Linked DNA regions of Homo sapiens: regions 1 and 2 are each linked to region 3. Evidence: promoter capture Hi-C in 16 types of primary human blood cells and fetal thymus (Javierre and others, 2016). All regions are on one chromosome and are shown on one strand. The core of a region is centred on a gene start or on the middle of the fragment in contact, and the rest is flanking DNA. Distances in the headings are between cores, read along the strand shown. Region 1 overlaps TEK (TEK receptor tyrosine kinase). Region 2 overlaps TEK (TEK receptor tyrosine kinase). Region 3 holds the start of TEK (TEK receptor tyrosine kinase).

What was found. The method cuts DNA at HindIII sites, captures the fragments that hold promoters and counts their contacts. A CHiCAGO score of 5 or more calls a contact.
Region 1: a contact is called between a fragment that was not itself captured here and the fragment with the promoter of TEK in region 3, in 1 of 17 cell types (endothelial precursors). The highest score is 7.1, in endothelial precursors.
Region 2: a contact is called between a fragment that was not itself captured here and the fragment with the promoter of TEK in region 3, in 1 of 17 cell types (endothelial precursors). The highest score is 6.4, in endothelial precursors.

Annotation. Positions count from the first base shown.
Region 1 is chr9:27,146,140-27,148,839 of GRCh38, forward strand. The region is part of intron 1 of TEK (TEK receptor tyrosine kinase); the gene reads left to right. Among named protein-coding and RNA genes, the nearest start is that of TEK, 38 kb to the left of the region's middle. The HindIII fragment of the contact is 2,940 bases long and covers 1-2,700 here.
Region 2 is chr9:27,162,943-27,165,642 of GRCh38, forward strand. All of the region lies in intron 2 of TEK (TEK receptor tyrosine kinase), which reads left to right. Among named protein-coding and RNA genes, the nearest start is that of TEK, 55 kb to the left of the region's middle. The HindIII fragment of the contact is 5,735 bases long and covers 1-2,700 here.
Region 3 is chr9:27,107,783-27,110,482 of GRCh38, forward strand. TEK (TEK receptor tyrosine kinase) reads left to right here and starts at 1,443. Exons shown (of 23, transcript NM_000459.5): 1 at 1,443-1,860. The coding sequence starts at 1,809. The HindIII fragment of the contact is 9,085 bases long and covers 1-2,700 here.

The DNA of each region.
Region 1 (2,700 bases), core at 125-2,624, 38 kb after region 3:
GTTATTTATTTAGAGATGCTTCTGTTGATGAACTTTATATTGTTTACAGTTTGTGGCTATATGCTGCAATGAATATCCTTGCCATATCTTTGCATATTTTTACTGGTAAATATGAAAGATACATTTTTATTATAATTGTTAAAGTTAATATACAGTATAATTGGCTTTTGTGTGTATACAACTCTATGAGTTTTAACACATACACTCATGTATCTGCCACTAAGAACAGCGATCAGGATACAGAATAGTACCATCACCCCAAAAATCTTTTTTGTGCTGCCCCTTTGTAGTCAGATTTCTCCCAGCCCTAATCCTTGGCAGCCACTCATCTGGTCTCATCCCTACAGGCCTGCCTTTCTTAGAATGTCATATAAATGCAGTCGGACAGTAGGTAGAAGATGATTTTAGCTTCTTCACTCAGCATAATGCCATGTTGCTGCAAGTAGCAATAGGTTTTTTCTTTTCATTGTTGAGTAGCATGGATATACTATAGCTTGTTTATGTATTTATCCACTGAAGGATATTTGGGTGCTTCCAGTTTGGGGTGATTATGAATAAATAGAGCTGCTATAAACATTCTATTTTTTTTTTTTTTTTTTTTGGCGGGGGGGACGGAGTCTTGCTCTGTCTCCCAGGCTGGAGTGCAGTGGCGTGACCTCGGCTCACTGCAAGCTCCGCCTCCCGGGTTCACGCCATTCTCCTGCCTCAGCCTCTCGAGTAGCTGGGACTACAGGTGCCCACCACCACGCCCGGCTAATTTTTTGTATTTTTAGTAGAGACGGGGTTTCACCGTGTTAGCCAGGATGGTCTTGATCTCCTGACCTTGTGATCTGCCCGCCTCGGCCTCCCAAAGTGCTGGGATTACAGGCGTGAGACACTGCGCCCGGCCAACATTCATTGTATGAATGTACATTTTCATTTCTGAAGGGTAAATGCCTACAAGTGGGATTGTTGGGTGATACGTAAGTGTATGTTTAACTTTATAAGAAATTGTTAAACCAATTTCCACAGTGGCTATACCACCCATTTTAAATTACTTCCATCAATGGATGAGAATTGCAGTTCCTACACATTCTCTTTAGCACTGGGTATTATCAGGTTTTCTTTTTTCTTTCTTCTTTTTTTGTTTTTTGATCTGTTCTAATAGGTTTGTAGCAGTATCTCATTGTGGTTTCACTTAGCATTTCCATAATGTTTAATGATATTAAACATCTTTTGTGCTTATTTGCCATCTATACATTTTCTCTGGTGAAGTGTCTCAAATCTTTTGCTCATTTAAAAAAATTGAGTTGTTTTCTTACTGTTGAGTTTTGAGAGCTTTTTATGCATTCTAGATGCAAGTCATTTGCCAGATATGTGATTAGCAAATATTTTCTCCCAGTTCATGGTTTGTCCTTTTATTTTCTTAACAATGTCTTCCATAGACTAAAGTTTTAAATCTTAATAAAATTTAGCGTAACAATTTCTTTTTTATTCATGGTGTCTATGACAGCTAATTTTTGGTGTCATAGCTAACAATCACTTTCTAACTCCAGTGTCATGAAGATTTTCTTCTATATACCTAAAGTTTTGTATTTTAATGTTTTACACGATGTATTTTTAGTGAATTTTTGTATACATGGGTGGTTTTAGGTTAGGGCTCTTTTTTTGCATATTGATGTCCAAGTGTTCCAGTATTATTTGTTGAAAACAACTTCATTGAATTGTTAGACATTTTTGACGTGAGATGGTGTAATATAGTTTAATTGTTGAAAGAATGGAGTGAAACCAGTCCACCTAAATTTCAGTCTCAGCTCTGCTACAAATTAGCTGTGTAACAATCACCAAGTATTTAATCTTTCTTTGTCATAGTCTCCTTTTCTGTTAAATGGAAACAGTCATAGTACCTACTGCCTAGATTGCTATGAGGATTGAGTTATTATGTGTTGACACACTTAGAGTAGTACCTGACATAATAAGTGATGAATTAGGGTTAGCTTTTATATAACTTTTCAGTTATTGTAGATATTGCGAGCACGTCCTGTAAACATGTTTTACTAATTACACTGCCCATCAACAATATAGATGTTTCTATTCAACAGCCAGCACCAGATATTATGACCCTCTCCATTCTTTGACAATTTGATAGGCAAATAATGAGATGTCTTTTTAGTTTGTATTTTGAGATCTGTGGTCAGGTTAAACATCTTTTCAACTTTTCACATGTTGTGAGTATATCAGCTTTTGATGAGTAACAAGGCATCCAAAACATAATGGTAAAACAGCAAACATTTATTATGACTTATGCTTCTGTATGTCATCTGGGAAACTCTTTGGCTTAAGCTGGATTGGTCTCTCATCCTCTAGCGGGTTAGTCTTGGCGTCTCCTCATGATGGCCTCAGGGTTCCATAGAGCAGCAGCAAGAGTGCAAGCCCAGTGGGAGAGCCCAGTGGGCAAGCACTTTTCAAGCCTCTGCTTATGCCACATTGGCTAATCCTCCATTGATCAAAAGAAGTCCCATGGCCAAGCCTAGATTCAAGAGATGGAGAAAGAAACTCCACTTCTTGATGGAATGAAATGCAAAATATTGTGACCACTTTTTCATGAATCTACTGCGACTGGCTGTTTGTGTTTCCTTCTCTGTGAATTGCTATTGGTTCAACGACTTATGAAATTTCTTTATATGTTATACATATTAACTCCTTAAGTTTTACATGTAA
Region 2 (2,700 bases), core at 126-2,625, 55 kb after region 3:
CGACCTTGTGATCCACCCACCTCAGCCTCCTAAAGTGCTGGGATTACAGGCGTGAGCCAGTGCGCCCAGCCACCACAATTATTCTTGAGCCTCTATTTTTGCCACATGTTTTCCTGAATACTTGTATGCCTGACATTCCCCTAGCAACTTCATATGTATTACTAACTTAGTCTTTATCAAATATATATCAGATGAGGACTTTTAAGACCCCACTAATAATAGATGAGGCTTGGCTATTGTAACTTAACGTGCATTTACTAGCTAGTGAGTGTTGGATCTGGGAAGGTGAAGTCAGGCCCGATTCTAGAAGCCTGGCTTTAACCATCACCCTGTGCTACCTTTCAAAACAGATGTGATCTTGCCCTCCTGGAACACCCAATCTAGTAGGGGATATATACCATGAGTGGGGCTATAATGAAAAAATGCAGGGTATTTAGGGAGTAGCTATGAGGGCATCTAACCTGTGTTCCAGGTGTTGTGTGAGGTCTCTGAAAATTCCTAAATGGAAACTGATGAATGAGCAGGAGCTGGTGAGGCTGAGGAGAAAAGGAGGAGAAAAGAAGAAAGAAAACTCATGACTTGGACATGAGTGATGAGATCTGGCTGAGGAACTGAATACAGTTCAAAGTGGCTGGAATTGAGAGCTAAGGATGTGGACCTGGAGAATGATAAGTCTGGAGAACTAGGGGTGGAGGTCTTGAGTTTGTGTCTCAACTTCCACATTTATTCACTGTTGATAGGCCTTGGGTAAGGGACTTAGTCTTCCTTAACTCCATCTCCCATATGGATAAACTGTAGCTATACTGTCTTCACAGGACTGTGGTGAAATTGCACAAAATAATCACAGATATGAAACTACATTATTTCCTGTAGTACTTACACAACAATTAAATTGAAAGGAGATGACTGAAATTGAGCTCACTTGTTTTTCATCTGTGTTTTCACTTGTGTATAACTTTTACTACCACCTACTTTCTTCTCCAGACCTTATGGAATAAGGAATTATATTTTTAGTTAAGTTCTGCCCATGAATTAGCCCATCCAAATGATCTTAAGCAAGTTATCTTCCAACCTAGGCCTCAGCAGTATCAAATTTAAAATGAGGTGGTTGGACCTTAAAGCCTTCTGAGTGCTAACATTACATAATCTATGAAAGCATCCAGAGCGAGATTCCTTGGTTCAAATCCTGGCTCTCCCATGTATATGCTGTGTGATCTTGGACAGGTTACCTAGCTTCTCTGTACCTTAATTTCCTCATCTGTAAAATTAGGATAATTGTAGTACCTATCTCATAGGGATATTATAAAAAGTAATTTTTATTTAGTTGGAGTCTCGCTCTGTTGCCCAGGCTGGAGTGCAGTAGCTCATTACAGTCTTGATTTTTTTTTTTTTTTTGAGATGGAGTCTCACTCTGTCACTGAGGCTGGAGTGCAGTGGCGCAATCTCAGCTCACTGCAAGCTCCGCCTCCTGGGTTCACGCCATTCTCCTGCCTAAGCCTCCTGAGTAGCTGGGACTACAGGCGCCCGCTACCACGCCCGGCTAATTTTTTGTATTTTTAGTAGAGATGGAGTTTCAATGTGTTAGCCAGGATGATGTCGATCTCCTGACCTTGTGATCTGCCCACCTTGGCCTCACAAAGTGCTGGGATTACAGGCGTGAGCAACTACGCCTGGCCTACAGTCTTGATTTCTTAAGCTCAAGTGATCCTCCTGAACAGCTGGGACTACAAGCATGTGCTACCATACCTAGCTAATTTTTAAATATTTTTTTTGTATGGAGCGGGGGTCTCACTGTGTTGCCTAGGCTGGTCTCAAACTCCTGGCCTTAAGAGATCCTCCCACCTTGGCCTCCCAAAATTTTGGGATTAGAAGCATGAGCCACCGCCCCCAGGTTGACAATTAAATTTGTGTAAAGTGCTTATAACAGCACTTGGTCCATAGTAGGTGCTATTAAAAGGTATTTATCGTTTTTATGGCCTAGTCAAGTCACATAACATCAATATATGTGTACTGAATACAAGCCAGGCTCCTGTGTCATCAGAAAGCCCAAAGTAGAACATGAATGTTGGATTTCCTTCGTTAGTACTCAACAGAGAGCAATCAGCCTAGAGACATTCATGCAGAGGTAAACTCTGGACAGCAGTGAAACTCTGGTGTGATAATGCCCCTAAGAAAACAGGAGGTTAAAAAGCACAGTCCTAAATAATAAAGAGCCACAGAGTGGTGGGGGGAAAGCTACTTGGAATTGAGCCTACTGGGGAACCTTGGTTCCTTTCAGAACACAATACTGAGTGAGAAGTCCCACGGTCAGCTAAACAATTCTCACACAAAGGAGCAGAAAATATAAACAAACCATATAGACAGGAACAACAGCATGAAATGGTCAGAAAAAAATTCTCGTAGGAGTCCAGGAGCATGCCACAGAGAGCAAGAGCTGCATGCATTTGGAGGTCTAAATGAAGCACTTGGCAACGTGAGCAGAAGCCCCACAAAGACAGCCCCCCTCACCATCCAGTCCCCTGTCTGCTCTTCCTTTATGGCTGGCTCATTTTAGTGCTCTGGAGAAAAGTGTCCCTCATGCTCATATCACAAATGTCAGCACAGCAGTGTTGCTGTTTATATTAGAAGGATACCGACCTCTTCTAGGCACCTCAGGGCTTAGCCTACATCACTTAATATTACTAACAACCTTTGAAGGTA
Region 3 (2,700 bases), core at 193-2,692:
TACAGGTGCACGCCAGCAAGCACAGCTAAATTTTGTATTTTTAGTAGAGATGGGGTTTTGCCATGTTGGCCAGGCTGGTCTCAAACTCCTGACCTCAGGTGATCCACTCCCAAAGTGCTGGGATTATAGGCGTGAGCCACTGTGCCAGGCCCACTGTTTTTGTTTTTTTTTTTCGTGATGACAAATTTAAAGTCATCTCATAGGAATAGAAAATAGCTTTTTAGTAGAAGCTCTTGGAATTTAAATTGAGACTGAATGGAAAGATGAAAGAAAATAAACTTATTAACATTTAATGAGAACCTTCAAAGAACTAGGCATAGTACCAAATGGTTTTATATTTTTAAACCTCATTTATTCCTCTCAAAACACCTGGGAAGGAGATATTTTTGCCATTTCACAGCTGTTGAAACTGAGGCTCAAAAAGACTAAGTAACTTTTCTCAGCTACACATGTGGCTGAGCCAGTATTTGAACCCAGTTCTGTTTGCAGACAGAACCTGGGCTTTTTCACACCTGCAAACTGGAAACATTAATTGGTTCTTAAGATCATCATCGATGTGATAAAACCTGGGACAGAAATTAGTCAAGACTAGCTGCATCTGCCTTTTCCTCTGGTGGGTAGGAAAAGGAGGAGTATAATGATTTCCTCAGGCATGAAGGTCGATGATGAGCAAAGTGTATACTCTCTAATCTAATGTCATAATTCATATTGTGGAGTAATTATCTGGATAAGTGTAGGGTCTCTGACCTCATTCTAGATATTGTACATTCCATGGCTATTTTCATTTTGGTCCATGAACTCTCTTTGCTCTCATGAGCACCATTTTTATCCCAATCTAATCCTGTATGTTTGTGTTTTTACACAGATTAGTTTTTAAATGTTATATATAATTTGCTTCTGAAACACCATTGCTCAATGACTACCAAATCTTTCTCATTACCAAAATCCTTCTATGCCAACTTCTTCAAGAAATTTGATCACCTTTAGATGAATTGTTAATGAAAATTAAAGCTATAGCCGGCAACATGGGTATCTTTGGGCTAATGGCCAACCAACAGGCCATCTGTGTGAAAGAAAACAGGCTAACAATTTTGGACTCTGGTCTCTTGGGGCTACATTGAGCATTGACCTCACCGGTGCTCACTGAAATTAATTGCTTTTCAGGTTGTATTTTCTCATCACGGAAACCTTCTTCTCCCAATTCAAACCATGTGGGTTAAAATGAGAAAACAAAAGCCAAAACGGCTTCCCACACCCAAAAGCTCCTTCTGTCAGAGATCCCAGTAGCCCCGGGAGAGCTGTTAGAAGTCTGAGAAGGATTGGTCATCATCGCATACCATACATAGGTGGAGGGCTTGTTATTCTCAGTTTCCCGCCTATGAGAGGATACCCCTATTGTTTCTGAAAATGCTGACCGGGACCCACACTTCCAACAAAAATTCCTCTGCCCCTACAGCAGCAGCAAAAGCAGCAGCAGAAGCAACAGCAACAGATAAGTGTTTTGATGAATTGCGAGATGGATAGGGCTTGAGTGCCCCCAGCCCTGCTGATACCAAATGCCTTTAAGATACAGCCTTTCCCATCCTAATCTACAAAGGAAACAGGAAAAAGGAACTTAAAACTCCCTGTGCTCAGACAGAAATGAGACTGTTACAGCCTGCTTCTGTGCTGTTCCTTCTTGCCTCTAACTTGTAAACAAGACGTAGTAGGACGATGCTAATGGAAAGTCACAAACCGCTGGGTTTTTGAAAGGATCCTTGGGACCTCATGCACATTTGTGGAAACTGGATGGAGAGATTTGGGGAAGCATGGACTCTTTAGCCAGCTTAGTTCTCTGTGGAGTCAGCTTGCTCCTTTCTGGTAAGGTTTGGCTTTATTTTTTTTAATTTAGTATTTTAAAAAACAGAGTTAGTGATTTCTGGGTGCTCTCCCCAAATCTCATCAGTGCTGATGAACAAGGGGTGGCTGTAGCAAAGGCACCATTTCTCTGTGAGTCTCCAGTCAATATGTGTGGAAGGATTGAAATGCAAAGGCTCTGTGGCATGAACTGATTTTGCTAGTTTGTCTTCTGGGTGATTGGCCCCTGTGTTAGAAACTCTTTGAGGACCGATTAAATCATCTTATTTGAAGAGATCCCCTTACTATCATGCATTATTTTCCTGCTCCTCATTCTGGAGTGTTTTTCTTATTGATTTTTTTTTTAAAGAACAAACCGGTTTTACCTGCTTTAAAGAAAATCTTCAGTAAAAAATGAAATTCATGCTGAGAAATACAGGGGCCCAATTAAGGCAGTGTATAGATTGTCACTGTTAAAAGGGAACAAAGATGCTTTTCTGTAAAAAGATTTTATATCTACATCCTATTTTAAGCAAAGCAATGAAATTGTAGGCTTTTTTTTTTTTCTTGTAGTTAGGGTCAGGGAGATTGGGGCTATTAGAATTTTTGTTTTATTTTAAAAAATGTTTGCCATGTAGTAATTCATAAAGGGTTTACTGGCCCAATGAAACAAAAATTTAGGCAGTTACCAAAATCTTTAACACAGGAGAGTATATGAAGCCTGTTGTAGAGTGAAGGAGTGGTTGGCCAGTGTGTTGGGTTCAGCGTGTTTATTGCTTAGATACTCCAGATAGTGGTGTGCCTCTGTAGCTCACTCAGCCTATGTGACATAGGTAGAAGGCAGTATCCAAACCTGAACTACAT